2 separate regions of the Homo sapiens genome follow, and region 2 is linked to region 1. Evidence: promoter capture Hi-C in human tissues and cell types (Jung and others, 2019). All regions are on one chromosome and are shown on one strand. The core of a region is centred on a gene start or on the middle of the fragment in contact, and the rest is flanking DNA. Distances in the headings are between cores, read along the strand shown. Region 1 holds the start of RGN (regucalcin). Region 2 has its middle 5.2 kb from the start of CHST7.

Region 1 (7,946 bases), core at 2,369-4,868:
ACGGTCCTGGTTGATGCTTTATACATCCAAAAGCTAGTTTTCACTTTCAAGGAAGAGAGGCACCTGTTTTTGTTTTGTTTTGTTTTGTTTGAAAATTAAGGTCTTGGCCTGACCCAAGGCAGATAACTGGGTCTTTAACTTTCCATGGTTATCTGAAGGTATTAAGGAAAGACAGGAACTAGAGTGCCCCAGCATCCAAACAAAACTGGGAATGGGCTGGGCGTGGTAGCTCACGCTTGTAATCCCAACACTTTGGGAGGTCGAAGTGGGTGGATCTCTTGAGCCCAGGAGTTTGAGACTAGCCTGGGCAACATGGTGAAACACCATCTCTACAAAAAATACAAACTAGCTGGACATAGTGGCACGCACCTGTAGTCACAGCTACTAGGGAGGCTGAGGCAGGAGGATCCCTTGAGCCCCAGGAGATCAAGGCTGCAGTGAGCCGTGATCACACCATGGCACTCCAGCCAGGGCAACACGGTGAGACCCTGTCTCAACAAAAACAAAACAAAAAATAAACAAAAACACCCCCCCCCCCAAAAAAAAACTAGGAATGTTGCCCCTCATTCAAAGAGGAAGAGGAAAGTATTGACCATCCATAATTAAACCCTGGGTCAAAGTGGGAGGATATGGAGTGGGGACAGACAGCGTGACAAGTGTAGTCAGTGTGCTTTAACAAGAAGGGTGCCGTGGTGACCGCCCCTCCCCTGGGAAAAGGTAGCTGGCTGATCTGAGTCCAGCCTTCATCCTTACCCATGGTCACTCGCTGTACTTGCTTGGTGAATGAATCCCACCGGCAAACCTTTTTTGCAGGAATGTCTACAAAGAGCAGAGAGTTGGACACTTCCTCCCATACTGGAGACTCACCACACCGGCAGTTCTCTGGCAAAACACACTCAATCTTAATGGAAGACATGGTCGCAGGGGAGATCTATTGAAGGTAACAGAGGTGAGTGAAAGGTCATCGCACAGAACAAATACAGTAAAACACCTGGCTAAGAACTGGCAAGGCTGGATACACTTCCCCCAGATCAGAGCAGGATATGCAATGTGACAGGGAGAGACACATAGGCAAAAGAAAAGAGCTGATAACAGGGACCATGAAACATCTTCAACCAACTTACCAGTGACGTGTTTCTCGAATGATCTTTCAAAAAGAAAACAAAAAAGTGACACTCTGACCTCCACTCCTTGGTGTTTGTGACCCTCAGAGAACTGGCTGTTGAAATAGTGCAAGGCCGTCCTTTATGTCAATACCCTGGGCCCCAGGGCGGGTCAGGGAGCTGGCAGTTTGCTCATTGGTGGCCCCTCTGGGTGTCTGCAGGGCACCTTCTGCTCCCCCACCTTCTGTTGATGCTGTTGAGCCCCTCTATGAGGGTGCAGAGGCCAGGGCCCGCCACACCTGCATTTTTCTGAGCTGCTTTACTGATTTATTTATTTTTCTTCTCTGTGTGGTTGATTTTTATGAACTGCATTTTTAGGACTATGTTCACCCCAATGAGAACTCGCTGAATTCGAACTAACACACATTTTCCAACGCAGACCATGGAAGGAGTGGAGAAAAGGACAGCATCGAACCACCCTGGCAGGAACTGACAGGCCCTCAGTGATTTCTTGCTTCCCAGGAAGACACCGTGCCAGTTTGGCAAAGAGTGTTAGACTCCACAGGAGAGGAACAGTCTATGCTGGGACTTTAGGCCAGAGACCATGACCAGCGAACTGGGAGAAGACAGAGAAAAATTATCTGAAAAGGAGAAAAAATCAGATAAGAATCCCATGTGGGAGAGGAAAGACAGGCAACTTTCAAGAGCAATCTTTTCTTTCTGTACCTCTGCCCTGAGTAGGCGGTTTCCAGGAATGATCCACACTGCCTGCATTTGTCAGGCACAGGGGCTCAGGCCTGTAATCCCAGCTCTTTAGGAGGCTGAGGCAGGAAGATTGCTTGGGCCCAGGAGTCTGGGACTGGTGTGGGCAACATAGTGAGACCCTGACTCTACAAAACAACAAAAAATTAGCGGGTGTAGTGGCACATGCCTGTGGTCCTAGCTACTCGGGAGCCTGAGGTGGGAGGATCATTTGAGTTCAGGAGGTGGAGGCTGCAATGAGCCGTGATCATGCCACTGCACTCCAGCCTGGGCAACAGAGCGAGAACCTGTCTCTAAATAAATAAATAAAAATGGCCTGCATCTTCATCCTTCTCCCAGGGTAGCTATCTGCTTTGAAGTAAGTGGTCCTACACATGATGGGCAAATGAATAGAGAGGGAAAAAAGAAAAATAATGTTTGATCTAATATTTCCTTCAATAAACTACATTTTAAAAAAGAAACACAGGCCGGGCATGGTGGCTCATGCCTGTAATCTCAGCACTTTGGGAGGCCGAGCTGGGTGGATCATGAGGTCAGGAGTTCAAGACCAGCCTGACCAACATGGTGAAACCCCATCTCTACTAAAAATACAAAAAAATTGGCTGGGCACAGTGGCGGGTGCCTGTAATCCCAGCGACTCATGAGGCTGAAGCAGGAGAATCGTTTGAACCCGGGAGGCAGAGGTTGCAGTGAGCCGAGATTGCGCCACTGCATTCTAGCCTGAGCGACAGAGTAAGACTCCGTCTCAAAAAAAAAACCAAAAAAACAAAAAAACAAAACAAAACAAAACAAAAACAGAAACCAAACCAAACCAAACCAAAACAAAACAAAAAAAAAAACAAACAAAAAAACCTCAGCCCAAACTGGTCCCAAATACAAACTGCCTGCATCTGCAGCAGCATTTGAAATGTTTTTTGGCTATTAAAAATGGGCTCAGGCCGGTGCTGGTGGCTCGTGCCTGTAATTCCAGCACTTTGGGAGGCTGAGGTGGGAGGAACATTGAGGTCAGGAGTTTGAGACCAGCCTGGGCAACATGGTGAAAGCCCGTCTCTACAAAAAATACAAAAAATTAGCCGGGCTTAGTGGTTCGAGCCTGTGGTCCTAGCTACTAGGAAGGCTGAGGCCGGAGAATCGCTTGAACCTGGGAGGAGGAGGTTGCAGTGAGCTGAGATTGGGCCATGGCGCTCCAGCCTGGGCGACAGACTGAGACCTTGTCTCGGAAAAAAAAAAAAAAAAAAAAGCGGGGGTGGGGGGCAGTGTTCAGACTACAAAGGCCTTCATCCTATCAGTCTTAGATAAGGCTCAAGAGCAGTGGCACGACTTTTGCAATAGCGACTTTTAACCCCATGCTCCCTAGTAGAAGCCGGTGGGGAGGGGACGGGGGTGCCAAATGTTCCATTTAGGCCCGGCCCGTGACCACAAAGGGGTGGCTGGGCAGCAGGGAGCGGGGACGGGGCTTCAGGTGCCCGCGCTGCACCCGGGGTACCTGTGCGGGTGAGAGGCCTCCACAACAATCTGGTAGAGCCGCTGGGACCTCGGGCGACGGCGACGGCGACAGCGACAGAGAGGCCCTGGGAATCTGAAGGTTGAGCCTGCCTCCTCCCTGGCGCAGGCTTTGCAGAGGGCGCACCAGCCAGCCCGGCTGAACGGGCCCGGGTCCCCGGGTGGGCACAGAGCAGTCAGTCTCCTGGCGCGATCTCCTTCTGGCAGTCAGCTGTCAGTCGCCTTCTGGGAGATCGGGATGAGCGGGTCTGGCTCTGTTGTCGCCGGGGCCTTTCCTTTCCAGGGAGGGGGCGGGGAGGCCGGCCTGGCTCGGGCACTCGCCAGGATGGAGATTTCTCAGGCGGCTCGAAGGTCAGGCAGCGGGCCGAGGGGAGGGGAAACGCCTCCCGGGACCCGGCGGCTTGGCAGGTGGATGGCATGGGCCTGGGACCCCGCCCCGTCCCCGTCCCCGTCCCCCGCGGCTGGAAGAATCCTGCAAAGCCGCCCCTGGCAGGCCCGGGGATGGTGGGTACAGGCTTACGGCCCAGTGAACCTGAGCTTTGGAGTTTGGACGAATAGCTAGTTTACCTCTTACTTCAACCAAGAAAAGTTGTTAAATGCCGAACAGAGAGAGACTGGGACGGTTAAACCCAAACAGGTTAAAAAGGAAAGAACAAAGCTCCTCTCCATCCTAGTGGAGAAGACCCTGGTGGCTGAAGGCCAACTCTTGCAAAAACGTTTTTGGTGGGGGAAGAGGAAAGGCTCGATTTCATTTTCAAATCATATGGAAAACACATTCCTCAACAACACAGCTCCACAACCCCATTCTCAGCCTAAATGTATTCCTGGTCCTGCCATCTGACAGTCTGGGCTTTCTCCAAATAACCCATATTAAAAAAAAAAATGGCCAGGGCCGGCACAGTGGCTCAGGCCTATAATCTCAGTGCTTTGGGAGGCCGAGGAGGGTGGATCGCTTGAGCCCAGGAGTTTGAGATGAACCTGGCAACAAAGTGAGACTTCGTCTCTACTAAAAATTTAAAAAAACCCAAAAAACAACAAAACAAAACAAAACAAAACAAAACTGGCCAAGTGTGGTGGCTCATGCCTGTAATCCCAGCATTTTGGGAGGCTGAGGCAGGCAGATCACCTAAGGTCAGGAGTTTGAGACCAGCCTGACCAACATGGTGAAACCCCGTCTCTACTAAAAATACAAAATTAGCCGGGCGTGGTGGCACATGCCTGTAATCCCAGCTACTCGGGAGGCTGAGACAGGAGAATTGCTTGAATCCGGGAGGCGGAGGTTGCAGTGAGCTGAAATTGTGCCATTGCACTCCAGCCTGGGCAACAAGAGTGAAACTACTTCTCAAACATATATATGTATTTCTGGGTGTGGTGGTGCATGCCTATAGTTCCGGCTACTCAGGAGGCTGAGGCAAGAGGATCACTTGAGTCCAGGAGGTTGAAGCTACAGTGAGCTGAGTTTATGCCACTGCACTCCAGCCTGGGTGACAGAGTGAGACTGTCTCAAAAACAAACAAACAAAAATAACTCTCTTCCTCTACTTCCTCAGTGCTGATGTCTCCCTAACCTTATCTCAGCCCAGATGTCGCCCCCAGGATACAGGCCAGCAGCTTAACTGAGCTGACCCAAACCAATCACATCATTTCCCACCAACCTCCTGAGCACTCTGTCCTGGGAAATGGGCTGTGGTGCAGCCAACTGGCTGTGCAAGAAGCCCTGACACCTCGCGAGCCTCCTCTTGGTCCCTAACTCAAGTCCAGTTAGTCACCAGGTCATAGAATTGTCCCTTTAATGTCCTTCTATGTTGGCACTGCCTTAATTCATTCAGGCTTTCCCCATTTCTTGCCTAGATTGTTTTAATCTTCCCGGAGGCCTCATCTCATCCCTGTGGATCTGCTGCCAAAATGACCTGCTAGACCGTGAGTCTTGCAGGGGAGGGGATGTATCTTATTCACCCTCACCTCCCTGGGTCCTGCCACAGTGCTGACACATAGAGGTTGTTCAACTATATGCTTTTCAGGCTGGGCACCGTGGCTCACCCCTGTAATCCCAGCACTTTGGGGGGCTGAGGCAGGAGGACCACTTGAGGCCAGGAGTTTGACACCAGCCTGGGCAACACAGAAAGATCTCATCTCTATTAAAAAAAAAATAGCCAGGCGTGGTGGCTGTGATCCCAGTTACTGAGGAGGCTGAGGTGGGAACATCGCTTGAGCCTGGGAGATCAAGCTTGCAGTGAGCCGTGATAGCGACACTGCACTTCAGCCTGGGTGACAGAGTGGGATGTGGGATCCTGTCTCTAAAAACAAAACAACAACAACAAAAACTATATGCTTTTTTTTCTTTTTCTTTTTTTTTGCTGAGAGGGGTACCTTTATTTAGAAAAAAATTTCAGTTTTACAGAAAAGCTGCAAGAATAATAGAAAAAATTCATGATTACCCTTCACCCAGATTCCCCAAATGTTAAGTTTACCACATTTGCTTTACCCTTCTCTCTCTTATTTACATATACATCTATATATAATTTTTTTCTGACCAGTTTGGGAGCAAGTTGCAGACATGATGCTCCTTTACCTTTAAATACTGTAGTTCAGTGTGTGTTTCCTGAAAGCAAGGGTATTCTCTTCCATAAACACAGCACGATGGTCAAAATCAGGTAAATTAACATTGATACAGGATTATCTATTGGAGTCTCACCAATTGTCCAACTAATGTCCTTTATAATAAAAGGAAAAAAGATGTTTCATGCCCAAACCCAATCCAGGGCGAGGCATTGCATTTAGCTGCATTTAGTTGCTTTTCACCTGGAACAGCTCCTCAGCCTTTTATTTTTGTTTCCTGACATCATTGACATTTTTGGAATTCAAAATGTAGAATGTCCCTTAATTTGGGATTCCTTGATTTTTCCTCATGGTCAATTCAGGCTATGCCTTTTTGGCAATGCTACAAAAGTGATGCTGTATCCTCACCATCTGCAGGCAAACGAATGTTGATTTGTTAACTTTGATCATAATATGTGGTTATGAATCTTTTTAAATTGGCTGGGCATGGTGGCTTATGCCTGTAATCCCGGCACTTTGGGAGGCCGAGGCGGGTGGATCACTTGAGGTCCCAGCCTGGCCAACATGGTGAAACCCCATTTCTACTAGCTGGGCATGGTGGCGTGTGCCTGTAATCCCAGCTATTTGAGAGGCTGAGGCAGGAGAATTGCTTGAACCCGGGAGGCGGAGGTTGCGGTGAGCCAAGATCATGCCACTGCACTCCAGCCTGGGCAAGAGAGTGAGACACTGTCTCAAAAAATAATAATAAATAAAATAAAAAAAAAAGTGTAGTCATAGCACCCTGCAATGGACCCCGAGCACACAAGGCTCTTCGAATTTGTGGGGAGTCCCTTCTTGACCTCTCTCATGTTCTAGCCATGTTCTCTGCTTCTTGACTTTGAACTTGCTATTCCCTCTGCCTAGAACACTTCTCTCTGACCACTAATCCAATGCTTCCTTCTGCACTGGACTAACTTCTAACTAAGAGTCAGTTGAATGTCCCCTCCATCAGGAAGACTTCGCTGACCCTCCTCGCTCTCTGACCTATTGCTCTTCCAGGAGCGCCTCTTTATGTTTTATTACATTACTCATCACACTGAGATCCATTGGTTTATGTGTCTCTCCTGCTTTATCAGGAGCTCTCTGAGGATACATAGGGATCTTTTATTACAATATAAGTGCTCTTTATTCGCAGACCACCTGCAGTCAAACACATCTGGGTTCATTGACTCTTTACAGTGAGGAGGGAGAACACACACCACAGGGTACCCTGGGACATCTCAGTAACAGGCTGTTAGAAAGAACCTACTATAGGCCAGGCACAGTGGTTTATGCCTGTAATTCCAGCACTTTGGGAGGCAGAGGAGGGTGGATCACTTGAGGTCTGGAGTTCAAGACCAGCCTGACCAACATAGGGAACGCTGTCTTTACAAAAAATACAAAAATTAGTGCATGTGGCGGTGCATGCCTGTAATCCAAGCTACTTGGGGGGCTGGGGCTTGAATCTGGTGGGTGGAGGTTGCAGTGAGTGAGCGGAGATCGTGCCATTGCACTCCAGCTGGGGTGACAGAGCGAGATTCTGTCTCAAAAAAAAAAGTTGTTTTTTTTTTTTAAAAAGAAACTACTATAGAATTTGGCCTTGTATTAGGTGATGTGATTTTGGGGCGAGTCCAAGGATTGAATGCTGTCAGGGAGTAGGGGTGACTCCATGATTGGGCATTTTAATTTTCATCTAGAAGACAAGGAGAATGGGCTGAAGAACAAGCAGCCCTCACTCAGATAAGCCAGGATGGGGCGATGTTGAGTCATTTTTGTGATTCATTCTTTCCTTCCTTCCTTCCTTCCTTCCTTCCTTCCTTCCTTCCTTCCTTCCTTCCTTCCTTCCTTCCTTCCTTCCTTTCTTTCTTTCTTTCTTTCTTTCTTTCTTTCTTTCTTTCTTTCTTTCTTTCTTTCTTTCTTTCTTTTTCTTTCTTTCCTTTTTTTGAGACGGAATCTTGCTCTGTTGCCCAGGCTGGAATGCAGTGGCGTGATCTCCACTCAC
Region 2 (7,946 bases), core at 3,799-6,298, 510 kb after region 1:
ATTACTCATCTAGCAAAATCCCCCAAACCCTGCTTTTGGCTTTCTCTGTGCCTGCAAACACCACTGCGAAACATTTCTCCACAGGTGTGAGCCAGGCACAGTGGCTCACGCCTGTAATCTCAGCACTTTGGGAGCCCACAGAACAGATCAGCATCAAGATAACCTCATAATCATCAACCTGAAATGGTTGCTGAAATCTTAGGTTCTTCATGTCACTTCCCAGTCTCCAGTTCCATTATGATGATTTCAAACCTTCTCTAGTCTCCTCAGACTTCTGATACCCCTCTTCCCCCACCCACCTCTTCTCAGCACATGACCTTACTGCCTACTTCATAAAGAAACCATGTTAGACGATCTCTCACTTTTCCACTACCAAACTCATATATGCATTGACCTCTGTACACATCTCGTTTATAGCAAGGATATGATTTTGCAATATTAATCTACAACTTTCCCTTCTGTTTTCACTTTTCCCTCCTCTCTGGCTTTTTTAAAAAGCTTTGAGACAGGGTCTGGCTCTGTCACCCAGGCTGGAGTGCGGTGGCACTATCACCACTCACTGCAGCCTCAACCTCTCAAGCCCAAGCGATCTTCCTACCTCAGCCTCCCAAGCAGCTGAGACCACAGGCATGTGGACCACACCCAGCTAATTTTGTTTGTTTGTTTGTTTTTTGTAGAGACCGGGGTCTGTATGTTGCCCAGGCTGGTCTTGAACTCGTGGGCTCAAGTGATCCTCCCACTTCGGCCTTGTGCTGGGATTACAGGCCTGAGCTACTGTGCCTGGCCTCCTCTCATCTTTTAAGCAAGTAGGTGGCTCTGTGCTGGTGTGAGGGGAGAGGTGTGGCTGGGCAGAATGCAAATAGTTGCTGGTGTTTCCCGCTTCCCCCCACCCCCCGCCCTCCGCTCCAAAAGCCTCAACTCTGATAGTGGAAAGTGTGATAGGTTTTTTAAATAACCACAAAGTATTCCCCTCCTCTGTTTTGCCTTTGGGCAATGCCTTCCCATACTGACTCTGGGATGACCATGTGGCTTGCATTGGCCTGTGGGACAGTAGCAAACATGACACAGCAAAGGTTTGAAAAATACTCCTGCTGTGGGAATTGCCCTCATCCTGCTCTTTGGAACCCTGAGATCGGCTCGTGAAGAAGCCTGGGTTAGCAACATGGCTCAGAAAATAAGCCCTCCCAGCTGAGGCCCCCCACCCCCCAGACAAACAAGCCTGCTGACCGCCAGACAGGTGAGAAAGGAGATAGATCCTCGACCAGTGCTTCTCAAACTTTAATGCTTGAAGGCTCCTGTCAAAATGCAGAAAGTGGGCCTGGCCCAGTGGCTCACACCTGTAATCCCAACGCTTTGGGAGGCCGACGCGGGTGGGTATCCTGAGCCTAGGAGTTCAAGACCAGCCTGGGCAACATGGTGAAACCCCGTCTCTACCAAAAACACAAAAAAAGTTAACCAAGCATGGTGGCGTGCACCTGTAGTCCCAACTACTTGGAAGGCTGAGGCGGGAGGATCACTTGAGCCCAGGAGGTGGAGATTGTAGTGAGCCGAGGTCATGCCACTGCACTCCAACCTGGGTGACAGAGTGAGACCTCATCTCAAAAAAAAAAAAAAAGCAGAAAATGATTCATTACACCTAGGGTGGGGCCAGAGAGACTACATTTCTTTTCTTTCTTCTTCTCCTTCTTCTTTCTTCTTTCTTCTTCTTTTTTTAAATAGACAGGGTCTTCTCTCCCTCTGTCACCCAGGCTGGTGGAAGGCTGGAGTGCAGTGGCGTGATCATAGCTCACTGCAGCTTCAACTTCCTGGGTTCAAGCAATCCTTCTCATGCCTGGCTAATTAAAAAAAATTTTTTTTTAGGCTGGGCGCGGTGGCTCACGCCTGTAATCCCAGCACTTTGGGAGGCCAAGGCAGGCGGATCACGAGGTCAGGAGTTGGAGACCAGCCTGGCCAATATGGTGAAACCCCATCTATACTAAAAATACAAAAATTAGCCAGGTGTGGTGGCACATGCCTGTAGTCCCAGCTACTCGGGAGGCTGAGGCAGAAGAATCACTTGAACCCGGGAGGCAGAGGTTGCAGTGAGCCAAGATCGTGCCACTGCACTCCAGCCTGGGCGACAGAGTGAGACTCCATCTCAAAAAAAAAAAAAAAAATTGTAGGGTCTTGCTATGTTGCCCAGGCTGGTCTTGGACTCCTGGCCTCAAGCAATCCTCTTGCCTCGTCCTCCCAAATTGCTGGGATTACAGGCACGAGCCACTGCACTGGGTCCTGAGACTACATTTCTAATAAGCTCCTGGGTGCTTCTGATGCTCCTGGTCTGAGGACCACACTTAGAGTAGAAAGGTGCTACACCTTCCTGCCCTAACTGAGCTGACCCACCAAATTGTGAGAAATAATAGATGTAAGTTTTAGGGGTTTGTTTTGTAGCAAAAGCTAGCTGATATAAAGAAGGTGTGAGGGCTTAGACGAAATGTTTTGGAGAAGCAAAAGAAAGAGCAGCAGCACTCTAGTGCCCCCAACCCCACTGAGACATTTTCCTTAGGCTAGGAGGAGTGGGCAAAGGGAGAAGTCTATGGATCCTGCAGCCCAGGGCACCTGAACTCTTTTTCCTGGCAATGTGTCAGGGCAGAGCAGGAGTCAAAGAGAAGTGGCCACATGGTTCAGCTTGACAGAGATGATCAGGGGCACTGTGCCAAACCTTCCTGGGCCCCAGGCATAGCTTGGAAGCAGCAGAAGGGTCAAGTGACAGTGATGGAGACATCTCAGGGCAACTAGGTGAGCCAAAAACCCAATGATTCTAAGACCCCAGATCAAGAGTACATACAACCTTGGGAGTAGAGGAACCCTAGGAATTAATAAGGTCAATCAATGGTCTGTCATCCTAGCAGAAGGAAAACTCAATCAGAATTAAAGTTGTTTTCTATTAAGTGATTTCTATCACATCTAAGTTACTAGATCTGCTATCCATTTTTCACAATAGAGTGGTACAATAGAGTAGGCCCCGGTCCCTCCTATCAATCACCATTTCTCCTCCCTATTCAACTACACCCTCTCAACCAGATTATTTCCACTGATGTGAAAATTAAACAGTTTGATCTCTTTCTCTGTTTCTTCCTCTATCTCTCTCTCTTTAAAGTCCCATTTATTTGCATCCTCCTTTAGCATAGCTGCTGCTAACACATACAGTACCCTTGTGAGAATCAGAAAGTGCCCCCTCCAGACAGATGAATTGCAAGGGGGCTGACCCCATTCAAATAAGTACCCCTTCCTTCAGGCCACAGCCCCAGTCCAAGGTTAACAGCTTGAAGGCAGAACCTGGCCAGATTCTAGCCCGCTGTTGCATCTTTCTGCCAGGTACCCTCACTCTGCCCTTCTCCTACCCTTGTCCTGTTGCCACTGGTTTCTCTACCCACTCCTCACAGCCCAGCTTCTTAGTAGAGCTGTCTATACTAGTTCTCTCTGTGCTCTCATCTCCTACTCATTCTGTGGCAGGCCAGGTCTCCCTAACGGCTGAACAGGCAGGCCTCCCTAACAACTGTTTCAGCACTGAGTGGTTAAGCTAACTATTAAAAGCTAAGAGAGCCAGTGCCCTTATACAAAGGCTGGAAGGTAACAAAAGCACACCAAGAGTTTTGCCTAGGTCTTTCCTGGGCCTTGAAGCGTGACAAGAGAAGGAAGGAGTTCTTAACAGGACCCATTTAAGATTAAACAAGTTTCTCTGGGTGCAGTGGTTCATGCCTGTAATCCCAGCACTTTGGGAGGCCGAGGCAGGCAGATCACTTGAGGTCAGGAGTTCGAGACCAGCTTGGCCAACATGGTGAAAACTCGTCTCTACTAAAAATACAAAAATTAGCCGGGCGTGGCATGCACCTGTAATCCCAGCTACTTGGGAGGCTGAGGCAGGAGAATCACTTGAACCTGGAAGGCGGAGGTTGCAGTGAGCCGAGATTGAGCCACTGCACTCCAGCCTGGGCAATGAGTGAGACTGTGTCTCAAAAAAATAAAATAAAATTTAAAAAGATTAAGCACATGTTATTAGTGGTCTGAAGGAACTCCCCAAACCTCCATGATTTAGCAGGAGATAAGATAAGGGCAATCACCCCAGCACCTGGATCCATTTAGATTAAGTAAATTTACTGAGGCTCCAGAGGAAGGTCTTCAGGACTCAGACCTTAGTTATAGATTAGAAGAAGTTAATCACTTATGTCTTTAGATGAATGCACACTTACACGTAGACATGTAGCTTAGAAGGTATGTAAGCTCTGGAAAACTTTGTAATTTTGAGTTGGTCTGGTGATAATTTCCAGGCCTTCTCCCTGCACCTGGTTACAGAAATAAAAACTCTCTTCTTTCCCAGTTCACCTGCATCTTGTAATTGGGCTGAGAGAATAAGCAGTCCGACCCTCGGCTTGGTCCAGGAACAATTCCTCAGCACACTCCAATCTGAGTTCTGCCCCCATATTGCCACATCATCAGTTCTTTCTAAGCTTATCAATGGCTTCCATGGTTTTTTTTTTTTTTTTGAGTTTAGCTAGGATCACAGATTCACACCACCACTCCCAGCTAACTTTTTTATTTTTAATTTGTGTAGATACGGAGTCTTCCTATGTATTCCAGACTGGTCTCCAATTCCTGGGCTCAAGCAGTCCTCCTATGTTGGCCTCTCAAAGTGCTGGGATAACAAATGTGAGCCACCATGCCTGGTGCCATGTTACTGAATCCAGGACACTTTCATGGCTCACCTTACTTGACCTTTCAATAACATTTTTAACTGACACATTGTAAGTGTACATATGTATCAATAACATTTAACACTGTTGACAGTTCCCACCTTCAAATCATCTCTTCTGCCAACTTCTATGACATCACATGTGAACTGTTCTCCTAGTTCATAGCTACACCTTCAGAGCATAGCATTTGAGAGATTGACCTTTGGAGTCAGGCCACCCAAGTTGATATCCTTTATCCTTTGGAGTGAGGCCACCCAAGTTCATAGGCCAGCTCCACCACTTCAGCTCTATGGCCTTGGGCAAGTAAGTGAACCTCTCTGTGCCTCATTTATCAAACATTAGTTCTAATAGTACCTATCCTCCCCTATCCTGCAGGGTTGTTGTAAGAATTAAATTATATATATATATATATATATATATATATATATATATATATATATGCAGTCATGTGCCACCTGATGTTTTGTCAATGATGAGCTGCATATACAAGGGAGGTCCCATAAGATTCTAATACCTTATTTTTATTGTACCTTTTCTATGATTAGATGATATGTTTAGATGCGCAAATATGATCTCATGTTACAACTGTCTACAGTATTCAGTACAGTAACATGCTGTACATATAGCCTAGGTGTGTAATAGGCTATCCCATCTAGGTTTATGTAAGTACACTTTATGATGTTTGCACAATGATGAAATCGCCTAACAACGCATTCCTTGGAATGCATCCCCATCATTAAACAATGCACAACTGGGTGTGGTGTGTGTGTGTGTGTGTGTGTGTGTGTGTGTGTGTGTATAATCCCAGAACAGTGTATCCCATAGAGTAAGCTTTAAGTCTTATGAGTCGGTACATTGTTGCTGCTGTGGGAAGCTGATTCCCCAGGCCCTCTTCCTTTTCACTTTATGATCTCTTCAATGACTCCAAATTGACATTTCCAGCCCCAGCCTCTCCTTGGGGCTCCACACCTAGAAATCCAGTTGCCCACTTGACATTCCCTCTTGGTTGCCTCAATGGCATATCAATTTTAATATGTGAATGATAAAACTATCTATTCTATTATGCAGTCAGAAACTTAGGAGCCATTCTGGGTATCTCCCTCTTCCTCAGTCCCTCTTCTTCAATCCAATCTATCATCAAGTCAGGTGGGTTTTACCTCCTAAATGTCCTTTCAAATCATTCACTTATCTTCATTGCCATTGCTACTACCCTAGCTCAGAGGACCAACTGTCCCCTAGAGCACTGTAGAAACTGCCTAGCCAGTCTCTGTTTCTATTTTGCCCTCTTTTAATTTTTTTTTTTTTTTTTGAGACTGTGACTCACTCTGTCGCCAAGCATGGAGCGCAGTGGTGTGATCTCAGCTCACTGAAACCTCTGCCTCTCAGGCTCAAGTGATCCTCTCTCCTCAGCCTCCCGAGTAGCTGGGATTACAGGCGCACACCACCACGCCTGGCTACTTTTTTTGTAGAGACAAGATTTCACCATGTGGCCCAGGCTGGTCTTGAACTCCTGGGCTCAAGCGGTCTGCCTGTTTCGACCTTCCAAAGTGCTGAGATTAAAGGCATGAGCCACTGCACCCGGCCTAATTTTTAATCAGTGATAGATTTCGGTCAATGCCATTTCTCTGCTCAGAATCTGTCTTGGCTTCCAATTGGTCTTTGGATAATGATGCAAATCATTAAGGTTTGAAAATTATGTTGTTAGAGGTCTTGAATGCCAGACCTTATCATGGTGTCAAGCACATAGTAGGTGCTCAACAAGCATTTGTTGTCTGATTGACTGCTGGGAAGAAGCACTTTACATTTGAGCTTTGATAGCAAACTACTGATGATTTGTATTGAGGGAGTAAGTAACGTTAGCAGAAATGACTTTCCAAAAATAGTCTTGCTGGGATCCCATAGATTGGGATTGAGAGAGGAAGACCTATTGGGACAGAATGAAAGAGCAGAGAATTTGAAATAGATGGCAGTTGGAAAGAAAAAGATGAATAGAGATTGGGAAGGCAGAATCTGCCTGCTTGGCTGAGAAAAAAATAAGACTAGCATTTTAGACTGAGAAAAAGAAAAAAAGATTTCTTTTGATTCGTTTTTTCTGCTATCCTCTCTCTCTCTCTCTCTCTCTCCTTCTCTCTCTCTCTCTCTGACAGGATCTTGCTCTGTCACCCAGGCTGGAGTGCAGGGGTATGATCATGGCTCACTAAAGCCTCAACCTCCCAGGCTCAAAGGATCTTCTCACCTCAGCCTCCTGAGTAGCTGGGACCACAGCTGTGTGTCACCGGGCCTGGATAATTTTTTAATATTTTGTGGAGATGGGGTCTCACTATGTTGCCCAGGCTGGTCTCAAACTCCTAAGCTTAAGCGATTCTCCTGCCCTGGCCTCTCAAAGCGTGGGGATTACAGGTGTGAGCCACTGCTCCTGGCCAACATGCCTTCTAAGGATTTTCACAGTCTGGCTCTAATCTACCTCTACAATCTCCTTTTCTGTTTTTCATGAGGTTTCCAACATTATAAATAGGGGTGCTAAAATCACATCTTTACTACTTTCAAAACAATGGACCTAGAGACCAGACTTTTTCTTATGTATTCAAATATTTATTCAAAAATATGTATCAAGTGCAATCATGTATCTGGGGTTGTGCTGGGCAGAGGAGGTACACAATGAGCAAAACAGTCCCTGACCCTGTTGTCCCTTCCAGCCTAAGAGAGGAGACCAACTTTAACCAAATCAGTCTCCTAATGTGTGAATAACCCCAAACTGAACCAAGTGCTTGAAGGAGAGGAACGCAGTTCTGTGAGAGTGTATAACATAAAGGTCTGCCCCAGGGCTGGGCGCAGTGGCTCACGCCTGTAATCCCAGCACTTTGGGAGGCCAAGGTGGGTAGATCACTTGAGGTCAGGAGTTCGAGACAAGCCTGGCCAACATGGTGAAACCCTGTCTCTACTAAAAAATACAAATTTTCCAGGTGTGGTGGCGGGCGCCTGTAGTCCCAGATACTCGGGAGGCTGAGGCAGGAGAATTGCTTCAACCTGGGAGGCGGAGGTTGCAGTGAGCCGAGATTGTGCCACCGCACTCCAGACTGGGCAACAGAGCGAGACTCAAAAAAACATCTGCCCACACACACTCTCTCTCTGTCTCTCTCTCTCTGTCTCTCTCTCTCTCACTCTCTCTCTCTCTCTGTCTTCTCTGTGTGTGTGTGTGTGTGTAGTAAAGAC

What was found. Contacts are between HindIII fragments. The study calls those that stand out against the background at their distance.
Region 2: a contact is called between a fragment that was not itself captured here and the fragment with the promoter of RGN in region 1, in 1 of the 25 tissues and cell types used here (IMR-90 fibroblasts).

Annotation. Positions count from the first base shown.
Region 1 is chrX:47,074,115-47,082,060 of GRCh38, reverse strand. RGN (regucalcin) reads right to left here and starts at 3,618. Exons shown (of 8, transcript NM_152869.4): 1 at 3,352-3,618; 2 at 1,125-1,744; 3 at 754-931. The coding sequence starts at 916. The HindIII fragment of the contact is 11,720 bases long and covers 1-7,946 here.
Region 2 is chrX:46,564,549-46,572,494 of GRCh38, reverse strand. No RefSeq gene overlaps it. Among named protein-coding and RNA genes, the nearest start is that of CHST7, 5.2 kb to the left of the region's middle. The HindIII fragment of the contact is 5,107 bases long and covers 2,495-7,601 here.